5 separate regions of the Homo sapiens genome follow, and regions 1, 3, 4 and 5 are each linked to region 2. Evidence: promoter capture Hi-C in human tissues and cell types (Jung and others, 2019). All regions are on one chromosome and are shown on one strand. The core of a region is centred on a gene start or on the middle of the fragment in contact, and the rest is flanking DNA. Distances in the headings are between cores, read along the strand shown. Region 1 has its middle 20 kb from the start of PFDN1. Region 2 holds the start of ZMAT2 (zinc finger matrin-type 2). Region 3 overlaps PFDN1 (prefoldin subunit 1). Region 4 overlaps ANKHD1-EIF4EBP3 (ANKHD1-EIF4EBP3 readthrough). Region 5 has its middle 8.9 kb from the start of PCDHB1.

Evidence for each region. The method cuts DNA at HindIII sites, captures the fragments that hold promoters and counts their contacts. A contact is called where the count stands out against the background at its distance.
Region 1: a contact is called between a fragment that was not itself captured here and the fragment with the promoter of ZMAT2 in region 2, in 1 of the 25 tissues and cell types used here (hippocampus).
Region 3: a fragment that was not itself captured here is called in contact with the fragment with the promoter of ZMAT2 in region 2 in 1 of the 25 tissues and cell types used here (hippocampus).
Region 4: a fragment that was not itself captured here is called in contact with the fragment with the promoter of ZMAT2 in region 2 in 1 of the 25 tissues and cell types used here (spleen).
Region 5: a contact is called between a fragment that was not itself captured here and the fragment with the promoter of ZMAT2 in region 2, in 1 of the 25 tissues and cell types used here (hippocampus).

Annotation. Positions count from the first base shown.
Region 1 is chr5:140,322,169-140,324,868 of GRCh38, reverse strand. No RefSeq gene overlaps it. Among named protein-coding and RNA genes, the nearest start is that of PFDN1, 20 kb to the right of the region's middle. RefSeq lists an enhancer at 949-2,148. The HindIII fragment of the contact is 4,745 bases long and covers 1-2,700 here.
Region 2 is chr5:140,699,181-140,701,880 of GRCh38, reverse strand. It overlaps ZMAT2 (zinc finger matrin-type 2), which reads right to left and starts at 1,434. Exons shown (of 6, transcript NM_144723.3): 1 at 1,403-1,434; 2 at 969-1,062. The coding sequence starts at 1,420. HARS2 (histidyl-tRNA synthetase 2, mitochondrial) reads right to left here. Exons shown (of 13, transcript NM_012208.4): 13 at 2,576-2,700. RefSeq lists an enhancer at 1,106-1,175. The HindIII fragment of the contact is 4,805 bases long and covers 654-2,700 here.
Region 3 is chr5:140,281,364-140,284,063 of GRCh38, reverse strand. PFDN1 (prefoldin subunit 1) reads left to right here. Exons shown (of 4, transcript NM_002622.5): 3 at 2,531-2,615. Among named protein-coding and RNA genes, the nearest start is that of PFDN1, 20 kb to the left of the region's middle. The HindIII fragment of the contact is 5,922 bases long and covers 1-2,700 here.
Region 4 is chr5:140,434,304-140,437,003 of GRCh38, reverse strand. ANKHD1-EIF4EBP3 (ANKHD1-EIF4EBP3 readthrough) reads right to left here. Exons shown (of 36, transcript NM_020690.6): 2 at 747-900. It overlaps ANKHD1 (ankyrin repeat and KH domain containing 1), which reads right to left. Exons shown (of 34, transcript NM_017747.3): 2 at 747-900. Among named protein-coding and RNA genes, the nearest start is that of ANKHD1-EIF4EBP3, 34 kb to the right of the region's middle. The HindIII fragment of the contact is 7,246 bases long and covers 1-2,700 here.
Region 5 is chr5:141,041,092-141,043,791 of GRCh38, reverse strand. No RefSeq gene overlaps it. Among named protein-coding and RNA genes, the nearest start is that of PCDHB1, 8.9 kb to the left of the region's middle. RefSeq lists enhancers at 1,773-2,700, 2,372-2,700. The HindIII fragment of the contact is 5,128 bases long and covers 1-2,700 here.

The DNA of each region.
Region 1 (2,700 bases), core at 165-2,664, 380 kb after region 2:
GACGGGAGGAATTAAGTCACCCTTTTCCCCAACCCTAATTTTCTTGCCCAACCTAGAAGTCACTGGGTTGGTTTCCTTATACTAAGGCAGTAATTTTATTTCTACTGTCCTCTAGCTTTTGACAGTGGGCAGTCTTCAATGGGAGTGTGAAAGGAGGAAGAAGCTAGCTTGTTCTTTCTTCATGCCACTAGAGTCTGGGTTAAGGACAGCTGTGTAAACCATGTACTCACCCAGGGTTCTCTAGGAAAGCCTGACTTCTTTCTATTTTGTCGGTGGTACTTGGTCAGTTGGGCGTCCCTGGGAAGCATTGTGCTTGGTAAGGGGGGCCTGATCGGGTCCATTTGAGAGTAAGTGTTCTCTCCTGCCTGTGGATGTAAATCCAACCCCTGGAACTCCAGGCCTGAGAAGTGTGACCCAAGTTCAACCCCTTTTACAGGTGTGTGTTTGGACACCTTCCGGAGAAAGTCTGCTGCCCACCCCTGTCCCAGCTGGGTTAGTTTCTCCTCCCCTGTGCTCTCACACCTCTGAGCCTTGGACAATGCAAGGAAAAGGAGTCCTCTTCCCATAGCAGCTTTGCTGCTCCTCTCCCATGGCTTTCATCACACCGCATATTGTCATTGTTTACTCATCCATTTCTCCCACTGTGAACTCTTGGAGGTTGTGGAGTGTGTCCTTTTACACACTGTGTCAGCACACCAGAGGCTTTCCCTAAATGTTTGATGCATGCATGGATGGATGGACAATTGAATAAATGAATGAGTGCATGAATAAATGGATGAGTGAAATAGAGTAGAGGTGAAAGTTTCAGGCTCTAGATCAGACAAGCCTGGGTTTGAATCCTCGTCATGCCATTTTCTGGTTATATAATAATCTCAGATAAGTTATTTAACCTCTCAAAGCCTCAATTTTTTTATTAAGGTTTTTTTTGTGGAGATTACAGTGCCTGTAAAGCATTTATCACAGTGTCTGGCAGCATGGAGTAAGTACTCATACCCGAAAGCTTTTACTATTCTTAACAAGCTTTGCCAGTTTTTACCATCATGGGTCTTGTTTGCACCTCCTTTTCTAGATTTTTGGCACAGTGGGTCTTTGCCAGACTCAAGGGTTGGCCTGCAGGGCTGCCCACATGGGTACACGTTGGGGTCAGGCAATGTAAAAACAGCACTGAGTTTTGCTGAGAAGGGGAAACCGTGATAGGGGCCTGTCTAAAACCAGGCAAACAGGTCAACTGCCAACCCCATTGTCTCAGGCCTTCTCTGCTGGCAGCGTGCTCAAGAAAACAGGAACAGTGTGGCATTTAAGGTGCCTGGATGACAGCCACATCAAATATGTGACCTTTTCCTAGGAAGCCTGGTTTCCATGGTGAGCTCGTTCTCAATCCATGCTCTGTGGCTCTCAGCCCCCTCTGGAATGTGACAGCAGTGGCCCCAGCAGCCGGGTGGGGACATCTGCCTAGAGGTTGTCCCTCCAACATCTCCAGGGTGGAGGAGGAGCTGAGATAGCCCCCTGGGCTGTCTGATGCCCACACCAGCCTTCCAACCTGGAAGGATTTGCACTGAGGCCCTGACACTGCCTCCCTCTGCTCCCCTTCTCCCACACATGGCTCATGGCCAACTGGCTGCCAGCCTGAGCAGAAAGAAGGGGTCTCTTTCTGTGAACCCCCATCTTAGACAGAGGCCCTGACCCCCTCCACCTCATCTTGGCAGCCTGAGATTGGAGAGAGTGTCTGCCGCCCTGGCCTTGGCAGAGCGCGTGCTCAGCCCAGCCCCTGCAGCTGCCAGAACAGGAGCTGAATGCCCAGTGTGTCTGCCAGAGCTTGCTAACTTCTTTCTTCTTTCTCTGAGCTATGAAAACAGAGGCTGCTGAGGAATGTGACTGCTAACCTCCCCACCACCCGCCTCCCTCCTCCTGGGGCTTGTGTTCCCCCAACCCCCCAAGCTGGAGTCACATCAGAAAAATGTAGGGGAGGAAAGAAATCCCCCAATGTGTCATGACATTACATTTCCGCCTGGACCTCAGAAACAAGAAAAGTTAGAAGCAGAGGGAGAAGAGGGGTGGTGTGGTCATTGCCAGAGCCCTGTGACTGCTTCACCTCCTGCCTCCCTGGGGCAGATCACTTGCTCCCTTGGGGATCTGTCTCCTCATTAATAAATGGGGGCAGATCGGGCCTGGTGGCTCACACCTGTAATCCCAGCACTTTGGGAGGCCGAGGTGGGGGGATCATGAGGTCAGGAGTTCAAGACCAGCCTGGGCAACATGTTGAAACCCCGTCTCTACTAAAGACACAAAAAAAATTAACCTGGGCGTGGTGGCGCGCACCTGTAACTCCAGCTACTCAGGAGGCTGAGGCAGGAGAATCGCTTGAACTCGAGGGGCGGAGGTTGCAGTGAGCTGATATCCCACCATTGCACTCCAGCCAGGACGACAGGGAGAGACTCCATCTCAAAAAAAAAAAAAAAATGGGGGCAAATTGCTTTGACTCAGATGGCAGACAAACTCAGAATTACCTGTTTGCTGTCATTGAATAGCACGGATATCACTAAGTTGGTAATTATTGAGTGAGTGTACTGCTCACGCATACTCATTTAACAGACATACGGGGATTCCTCCTTTTTTCTGGAGGCTAAGAACACAAGGGTGAACAGGACCGAGGCCCTGCCCTCCGGGAACTTGCACTTGAATAGGAAAAATAGACAATTA
Region 2 (2,700 bases), core at 185-2,684:
AGACACTTAAAGTAGCAGCTGGGGAGAATCTCAACACAGGAAGAAATCATAAGCAATCCTCAACTCTACAGCTTTTCTCCACTTTAAAGCCAGCAAATCTAAAAACAGTATGTTTTATATTCATTGATTAACTGAATTGTGGGGGAGAATTTCTGAAGAATTACTAGAAGCAACTTTTTCAAAACGGGAGCAAGGACATTCAAGAATGCTTTCAGGCAGATACCCTAGGCATAACGGAAAGGAACCTTCTGAGAGCTGGGCAAATTTATAAAAGGGGACCAACATCTAGGAAATGCCTGTTACATGTCAAGCACTATTTATTTTACATGTTACATAAAAAATGAAAGAGTTAGTGAGTGCAAGGTGGCCTGGAGGTAAAGGGAAAGAAGAATGTACACGTTTGAAACAGATGACAAAATAAAACATTTCTTTATGCAATCTCTTAAACAGGAGAGAAGCACCAACTCCCTGATGTACAAGGCACAGAGAAACAGCACTACTAAGCTCTAGCTGAAACAATCACAGATCCTGCAAAGTTCCCCGGCTTTTCTCAGACTATATGGGAGGGTCTTGATTGGGCCAGGAATGTTCTCTCCCTTAAGAAATTTCAAGGGAAAGAGGGGGGTCACTGATAGCGGTAATGCACAGCAGCAAAATACTCTACTTAACTTCTCTGTCACTACTAAGGATGCCGTTATCTTCTCTGTACTTCAGGAAAGCATTAAACGAGCCAAGCAAAGGGTGGGCAAGGAAGCAGAGTGAAATAGAGCTGAAGAGCATCTCAAAACTACTTACTTCATCCCACCTCCTCGCTCTCATTTTGTAAATGCAGAAACCTAGGCCCAGGGAAGCAGCACTCTGCCAGAGCTTACACCGCGTGGGAAGGCAGCGCACTTCAACTCCCACCCGCTCTCCATCATCGCATCGCCTCTGTGATACCCTTAGCCCTTGATGTAGTTAGCACCCACCATCTTTCTTTTCTCTCTCTTCCGTGAGCCTCTTCTCGGCGAGTTTCTCATATTCATCTTTGTCCCACTTTCGGCGAAAGTCCAAGTTTTTTGTCTGTGGGGAGGAAAAAGCGTCAAGATCCGTCGCCGTGTCTGGGCCCCTAGAGAAGCAGGGAACCGCGCCCTCGCGGTCCAGGTGTCTACAGGACGTTTTGAAAGCAAAGCCTCTTTGGACTGTACGAGAAGACTGAGGTAGCCTCAAGACCCCAACCCGAGAAACCTCCGCGATTCTACTGACCCTCTGCCAAGGCCTATTACTGGGGAGTTCTTGAACCTGAACCCTGGGATCTCGAGGAGATATCGGGAAGCCAGTCGGGTGCAGGAGTTTGTCTCTATTCAGGTCTGAAAAACCATTCCCCACCCCGCAAAACCTCCTCCTCAGACACAACACCTACCCCGCTGCCCGACGCCATCTTCACAGCGAAGTGAATGGCGAGCTGAAAAACGCCGTAAAAAGCGGCTTGGAGCCGTAAGGCAAGATAGCCCTCCAATAAGCTTGGAGTCTTGTGTTCTAAACGAGCTAAGGACTGGAGGGTTTCTAAAACAGGCTTGTTGGCCCCGCCTCTGCTCCAAGGAGACAGCGCAGGCGCAAGAGGAGTATGAAGCAACACGGAAGTAAGGGCGCTTGCAATTGTTTTTTGCCTTGGATTTCAAAACAAGCATTAAAGGGTCAAGATTTAGTTCAACTATTTTACAAACAAGGAAACTGAGGTTCGCAAAACAGTGGTCTCTGATCTAGTCTAGCAACTTTGCGTCCACTGCCAAGAATTTCTAAACCTTTTTTAAGGCCGAAGCGCCATTAGGGGGTCTAGATGCCTCTCATTCACCTGCATGCACTAGGGATATGACCCTAAACTACACTGAAACGTTTGCAACAGAGGCACCCTTCCCGACGCACATATAAAAAGCATGTTTTGCACTTGGGCTCTTTTCCTTGAAGCAATGCTACCACCCTTTGGTTCACTTATTTTTCCATCATCTGGGGAACTTTATAGTAGAACATAATTTAATCAGCATAATTGGATTTGGAAAGGCCAGTCATCAACAACACTCTAGAGTGAAGCACTGTGGCATACCGGCTCACTATATGTTGATTTTTAGCAACAAAACTACCTCTTGGCCGGGCACAGTGGCTCATGCCTGTAATCCCAGCACTTTGGGAGGCTGAGGTGGGTGGATTATGAGGTCAGGAGTTTGAGACCAGCCTGGCCAAGATGGTGAAACCCTGTCTCTACTAAAAATACAAAAATTAGCTGGCTACTCGGGAGGCTGAAGCAGGAGAATCTCTTGAACCTGAGAGGCGGAGGTTGCAGTGAGCCGAGATCACGCCACTGCACTCTAGCCTGGGTGACAGAGCAAGACTCCGTCTAAAAACAAACAAACAAAAAAACTACCTCTTGAGGAGACAGGGAAAGAGGGAGAAACTGTGGCTGCTCATCACTGAATACAGAAGCATCATCCCAGGGAGGTTACTTCTACCTCACAGAATTCTCCAATGTACACTCAAGCATTTTCTATGGTCTATGCAAACAAAGCCCTTGATAACAATAACAAATTACCCAAACTACTACACTTAATATTTTATTTAACATGTTATCCAACCACTTCTAAAACAGCCTCCATGGCACGGTATGGAATAGAGCAGTGATTCTGGCACAGGAAATGGTCTCCAAAATCTCAAAATATCAGATCT
Region 3 (2,700 bases), core at 150-2,649, 420 kb after region 2:
TTTTAAAGGCCACATAAGTAATGACTTGACCTCTAATCTTAGCTTTGAAATTTTCCCAGACACTAATAAAGATGATGTCTGATGACCTTTTATTTGAGAATAGTACTCATTGGCCAGCTATCAGTGCTACTTAAAAATGTATATTTTACTCAAAAAATTATTTCCATGGCTAAAAGACTTTCTCAGTAAAATCACACATGTCATGACATAATTTGGTGACTCTTGCACCTTGTTTTAGAATAGTTTTTACATAACATTACTGAGACTTAGTACTGTTCAAAACAACTCTTCTCTTCAAATACAAATATGAGTTAGTTCTGAGAAAAATATTCTGTAAACCATAATCTTATCTGAAATAGCACCCATCTCTTGGATCCAGTAAGAATATTTTAGACATGAAGGGTTCTATAGTAAAAGACCTGGAATTAATCCTTGTTTTGCATGAATGTGGGCTCTCTTTCCTGTAAATATACAGTAAGGTTTTACAAAGAATCAAGTTACTACTGAAGACTAAGATCATCAGTTGGGCTGGGCTGGGCGTGGTGGCTCATGCCTGTAATCCCAGCACTTTGGGAGGCCGAGGCGGGCAGATCACGAGGTCAGGAAATCGAGACCATCCTGGCTAACATGGTGAAACCCTGTCTCTACTAAAAAATAGAAAAAATTAGCCAGGCGTGGTGGTGGGCGCCTGTAGTCCCAGCTACTCGGGAGGCTGAGGCAGGAGAATGGCATGAACCCGGGAGGTGGAGCTTGCAGTGAGCCAAGATCATGCCACTGCACTCCAGCCTGGGCAACAGAGCGAGACTCCGTCTCAAAAAAAAAAATTATCTGGGCTGGCCGCATTAGGATATAAGCTTAATAATTAGTGGAGTAAAAGAAGTTCTTCAGATTTTATTAATATGTGTGGTAAGGCTTAGTTATGAAGAAGAGGGGACAAGGCAGTTTCCTTCCAGGTGTTGGGGCATAGCTAATTGCCCTTTTTGGTCTGTTTTTACTTGTCTTATATCTATAATAACGGACTCTCTTGATAAGAACCCACCTAGGCACAATGATGTTTTTGTGGGGTTGGCAGAGGAAACTGCATGTTGCTACCTTGATGTGTTTTCTCGTTTGACTTTTTGTTAAGAGATGATGTTTAGTTCTTTGTTGCTGAACTCTGTTAGTGCAAAGAGAAGAAAAATCTTGCTTAATTAATTGCAATATTAAATTGAAATATATTTTAGCTTCCTTAGACAGTCCTGAAAGAGATTTGCATAACTGGGGTCTTCCCTTGGTTCCAGTGGAGGGGAAATATTTCAGTTCACTTACTTGGGGCTATAAAAGTTTGTTCTTCCTTTCCCTGAAGCAAGAATTGTGAACATAAAGTCATAAAACAGTTTCAGTGTTAATTTTTAAAACTTCTCCATATTTCCACCCTCATCAGTGGTAAATAATGTGCCTGATGTAAAATGGAAAAAGTTGAAAATTTCCACTTGTACATTTTGAGCTTTTCAGAGGTACTATATACACTCTGGAAATAATAATAAAAGATACTAAGGCTTATACAGTGCTTTTTGTTTGAGGAACTCATATAAACACTAATGCATTGATCCTAACACAGTGCTTGATTGTGACTTTAAAAGGTCATGAGTTACTGCTGTTACAAAAAAAAAAAAAAAATGGAGGGGCGCTCCACTTTACAAATATAGTTTAAAAAATATCTAGATAAAAATTGAAACAGATAACTGAAAAAACAAAACTTATAGGGTATTTGTTTGTATGTTGACTTTTCTCTTAGCGTATGATATATTTTTATTCCTTTATTATTTTTTCTTTTACATATGAATCTACTTGAAGCCTGATTTTCTTTTCTTTTTTTTTTTTTTTTTAATGTTTTTAAGACAGGATCTTGCTCTGTTACCCAAGCTGGAGTGCAGTAGCACAATCATGGCTCACTACAGCTTTGATATCTCAGTCTCAATTGATCCTCCCACCTCAGCCTCCCTAGTAGCTGGGACTACAGGCGTGTGCCACTGTGCCTGACTAATATTTTAAATTTATTTTTTGTAGAGATGGGTCTCATCATGTTGCCTGGGCTAGTCTTGAACTCCCAGGCTCAAGCAGTCCTCCTGCCTCGGCCTCTCAGAGTGCTGGGATTACAGGTGTGAGCCACTGTGCCCAACTCCCGCAACCCCCCCGCTTTTTTTTTTAATGAGACAGGGTCTTGCTATGTTGCCCAGACTAGACTCAGACACCTGGGCTCAAACAATCCTCCCACCTCAGCCTCCTGAGTATCTGGGACTGTAGGCCCACACCACTGTTCCCTGCCTGATTCCTATATTAAATAAGAAAGCAGAATCTACTTTTAAGCCTTTATTCCTTCTCAGCCAAGAAGGTTTAAACTTCTGGTGGTTTCCTGAGCTTGACGTATTATGTTAATATGCATTTGTCCTTTTAATTTGCTCAGTTTAATATTTGTAGTATGTAGCTATTGATTTCGATGAATTCAATAGTCATGTGGCTTAATTTTCAACTTTCTTGTGTTTCATAGGTTTATTCTTCAGTCCAAGGAAGCAATTCACAGTCAGCTGTTAGAGAAGCAGAAAATAGCAGAAGAAAAAATTAAAGAACTAGAAGTAAGTTTTTATTGGCAATAGGAGTTAACTTTTGGGAGAAAGTAGTAATCTTATTGTGTCATATTAAATGAAAATGTATGCCTGC
Region 4 (2,700 bases), core at 63-2,562, 260 kb after region 2:
GTTATCTACTTAATATATTTCACATTGCTTTAGCTATTTTATAATATGCATTACATATAAAAAAATTAGCTATTTAAAATCAAGTTAAACATAGATTAAAGTGAATACACAAGTAATCAACATGCAGCTCCCTAAATCAGTACAGATAAAGAAGTCATAAACTGATTAACTAAATTTATCTCCCACATTTTTATTTTATAATGGCTAACAGGTAAGTTTTCCTTGATAACTAGCTGATTATCTTTTTTTTTTTTTTTTCAGACGGAGTCTCGCTCTGTTGCCCAGGATGGAGTGCTATGGCATGATCTCGGCTCACTGAAACCTCCCCCTCTAGGGTTCAAGCAATTCTCCTGCCTCAGCTGCCTGAGTAGCTGGGACTACAGGCGCACACCGCCATACCTGGCTAATTTTTTTCTATTTTAGTAGAGACAGGGTTTCATCATGTTGCCCAGGTTGGTCTTGAACTCCGAGCTCAGGCAATCCGCCTGCCTCAGCCTCCCAAAGTGCTGGGATTACAGGCGTGAGCCACTGCGCCTGGACGCTCATTATCTTAATACCTTAAAAATATATGAGTTGAGCCCAGAAATACAAAATGTGAACATTTTCTTTGGGAGATAAAAAGTAAAATAAATTTTAGAGATTTTAAATTTTGTATAATGTTATAGAATTTGGGGATAATCTCATGTAACTGTAAAGAGATCTAGACTTTTAAAGATATGAAAAAGATAAAACAAAAAATAAAGTACCTGCTGCTTCTAGCAATGCTTCTAGTCGTGCCTGTGTCTCTGGATCCACAGTGCGTAAGTCTGCTCCTTCTGCAGTACTTGATAAGAATATCTCTGATGTTGTTTTAAGCACTGGGTTATCCAGATCTTCTTGGTCCAAAATAAATGATTCAACCTGTTAATGAAATAAAGATGCAATATCCATGAAACTGATATCAATATGATTAGAATAACTACAATTTAAGGTAATATGACTTCTTAATTAGAACTTAAATATAAGCAGAAAAATTATTATAGAAACAAGGGAGTATGGGAATGGACTTTGAAGGACATTGTGACTGTTTACCTTCAGACATGACTACAGGTATAACACACATACACTGAAGTTTCCTCAAGAGCATTGTATATTCTGTGACTAATACAGAGCATGAAAAGCAATATTAAGGCCAGTCACAGTGGCCCACGCCTGTGATCCTAGCAGTTTGGGAGGGCCAGACAGGCAGATCGCTTGAGCTCAGGAGTTTGACACCAGCCTGGGCAACAAGGTGAAACCCCATATCTATTAAAAAAAAAAATTAATACTGAAAAAAGAAAAGCAGGGGCTGGGCGCAGTGGCTCACACCTGTAATCCTAGCACTTTGGAAGGCTGAGGCAGGGGGATTACCTGGGGTCAAGAGTTTGAGACCATCCTGGCCAACATGGTGAAACCTCATCTCTACTAAAAATATAAAAATTAGCCGGGCGTGGTGAGGTGGTGCCTGTAATCCCAGCTACTCAGGAGACTGAGGCAGAATTGCTTGAACCCAGGAGAAGACGCAGGTTGCTGTGAGCCGAGATCGTGCCATTGTACTCTAGCCTGGGCAACACAGCAAAAACTCCATCTCAAAAAAAAAAAAAGCATTTACTTTTTATTGAAACAAGTACATGAACATAACCCTGAGAAAATCCATATAGACTAGATAGAATAGAACAAACAACAACAACAACAACAACAACAACAAACTTGATAGCATAGATAGGTCATTAAGAGAAAAGTTTTCCTCTTTTCTAAATAATTTATTCAATTCTGACTCTGAAATGAGGGAAAATAAAAACTAACCCACTGATACCTGGAGACCTTTAGACAGGAACACTCCATGAGGTTAAAAACTGTACTTTGTTTACAGTGCTATACGTTGGGCCTACGAATACCTGGCACATAGTATGAATTTAATACATACTTGTTGAAATGAATGAATGGTATAAGCAAAAATCAACTTACAAAAATAAACATGTAACCCTCCAATTTCAAATAAAATTAATTCAAAATGTATTTTCTTAAATAAAATATATACAACCCTTCTGGGAAGCAATTTGGAAACGTGTATCAAAATACCTTAAAAAGCTCACTAAAAAATTTTCTGAAAGCCAGACAAAAATTAGTGTGCAAGGATGTTCACTGCAGCATTAACTGAAATTCCAAAAATGAGGAAAAATTATAATACAGAATTTGGGAAATACATGTTGTACATTTACATGATGGACTACCATGCAGTCATTAAAAACAATGTTTTTGTGACCACTGGCTCAACTGTGAGAAGAAATAAAAAATTAAAAAAAAAGTTTTTGAAGCATATTTAATGGCATGAGAATATTCATAAAATTAAATAAAATACACAAGATTCAAAACAGTATGATTCTTATTTTGCTAAATGTACATATGTGTATATATGTAAATATGAACATGAGTACTCATGAGTAATATGTAGTATGTATATTATTTACATAATATATGTAATGTATATCATATACATATATACGTATATACATATAACATGTATGGCATATATGTAATTTGTATAATATACAGATAATATATATACTATATATATTACTGTAATATGCAAATATGTATAGCCAGGAAAAATTAACATATTTGTAGATAAAGAAAAACATCAGGAACAGAAAGATTAAGTACTTCTTCAAGGTCACACAG
Region 5 (2,700 bases), core at 144-2,643, 340 kb before region 2:
GATCTGTGGAGAGATTTGAAACTACGAGGATATGCTATTCCCAAAACAATTTTATTAACCATTGATTTCCAACATCCATGAATGATCCTTGCCTTGAATAAATACATATTTGTATATATATATATAGTATAAGTGTATGTGCATACGTATATCTATATGGGATCATGAGACTTACACTTTCAATACATTAATACAGATATCTTTATTTTCCTCCCCTACTTCATATTTTGTATTTTCCTTGTCCCAAAGTGAGAAGCCTTAGTTCACAACAGCATCAATATATTTACCCATCAAAATAAATCTCAAGATATACATTAAAGAATTTTGGAATTATTACACTATTACCTAAGTGCTAATTAACTTTTTTGAAAATCCACTCAGGGAGGCAAGAGAAATGTACTTAGTCGCATATTGAATAACAAATTCTTTTTACCCAATGTTCTTTCCTTTAAGACTCTACATTTTCTGCTTATAAAATTAGTTTAGATCAAAATTGATTCTAACATTAATGTAAAATGTATTGTTTATTTTTATTCATCTTTAAGTCATAGGTTTAAATGTTTCTGAAATTGTTCTGATGATAATTTTTTCACTATTTTCAACTTCTTTTAGAAAAAAAATACCTTAACTAAAATATTGGAGCATCTCTTCTGATTTGTTGCTTCTACTATTGTACCCAAAGTTCAGGTAGTTTTAAAATTTTAATATTGATAATATTTATTGTAATAGTAATTTTAACAGGCAGGTTAATATTTGGGGTCACCTCTAATTTTCATTCATATATACCTTTTAAGCCTGAAAAAAAAAGTCTATTTTTAGGAGTAGGTGTATTTTGAAACATTGAGGTCACACCTGCAGTTGTAAACTTTAGTACTATTTTAAAATTTTATTCTTCCATTGTGTCTTTTCATGCTTTTAAGGTTTCTTATTCATATTAGCAGAAACAGGATGCTTTGGTGGATAGAAGTCCTTTTTAGGCAGCTCAGTTTATTGCAGCTGCTCTTGATCTCCCATCTGTTGCTTTAAATGAGAATGCCTCTTATTGCTCAACCTGTGCATGTGCGTATAAAGTTTCCTTCTCCCACAGTAACACAAGAAGCCATAATATAAACCAATACCACTTATAGACTGGATTTGTAGTACACTCTTGTTTAAAACAGATGTCTTTCATCTTCTTACTATTCATGCTTTTTTTCATATTGGTAGAACAGGCTATGGATGTCTTTCCAGGAAATCTGACAAGTGTTTGGAAACGTCTCAATTTAATCAAATAGAGACTATATTAGAGTGATAATTCTTTCCCTTGATAAGCACTTATCAATTTCTCCTTTTTATAGAAAATTCAGTTAACACCAAAATCAGTACCTACATTTTTATTGAAATTAATATCTATTCAACAAAATTTTGTTTTAAACCTTAAAACAGAAATGGTAACTTTTATGTTAAGTAACTATGCTATTATATTTTTATTCTATGTTAAGACCCATAGAAGAGTAAATGAGAAAATAGCTATAAGAAAAGGAAATACTAACTGGGCTGGTTGACTTATAAAACCAAATGTGCCCTGGGATGGGTCTTTTTTCTGAGAGTGGTAAGATTGTTTGCTTGGGAAAGAATTTTATTTCACTCTCAACTTGCTAGAATTGATTTTACACTGTAACCCATACACCTGAACATACAGTAAGACTCTGAAACAACACTTGAACAAGGTATTTCCCCTATTTTTTCTTGCTATTTATCAAGATCTGTACTTACAAAGCAACTTAAGGTTTCCTCCTCTGAAGCTGGATGTATGTAATTCACAGTAACTTAATCATCACTGTGTAAAATAGTGTAAATAATATACACAGACTAAAAGTAATAAACATACCATAAATTTTCTGTATTTTTAGCACTCTGATAGTTTATGTATTAGGCTTGGAAAAAATAAAAAACAAGAGTTTTCATCCTAGAATTCCCACCACCTCTTACCAATTCCTAAATATAGTCACACTTTTCATCTTCCAGAAACTGAGATCAGAGTAGCACTCTCGGCTAAGCTTCCTGGAATATTTTTGGCTAACAACATAGTGCTTCCTTAGTATTTCTTTCAGTAAAATATACCCTGTGGAAGTTTTAGTAAATATTTCTAAATACCTATATATACAGATACTTTAAAAATACCTATTTGATTACAAGATGTGTTGGAAAAAATGCTTGGAGAAATTTAAACATATTCGTAAATTATTTTGAGTAGAAGCGAGAGATCACTCTGAAAATTCTAAATTTTTCCATTTCTCTTTAAAAATAGGCAGATCTCTCAAAAAAACCACTTCCTGACGCCCCAAATCTTCAATTTGTGTCTTTTAAGTTTTAAGTCTTAATCCAAAGAACCCTTTACACTTTATCAATAGCATTTTCCTCATCTGCCACCAGGTGGCAGGTGGATCCACTTTTCGGAACGCGACCCCGACCCCGCCCTACCGGAAGCTGTCATGTAAAGGAAATCTCTCTGGCCACGCCCAGAGTTCAGCACCATGGCCACGGACAGCGACACCGCCCAGTTCGGTCCCATGACTCGCTGCAGAGATTTTCACCACACAAAGGAAATGGCCAATCCCAACTGGTTCCAAGGGTCGCGTGACTGGCTAATTTACAATGCCAGAGGTGGAGGGGGGTAGGAACCCCTTGTTTTGGGATTTTTAGCCTGGAGGAGGAACA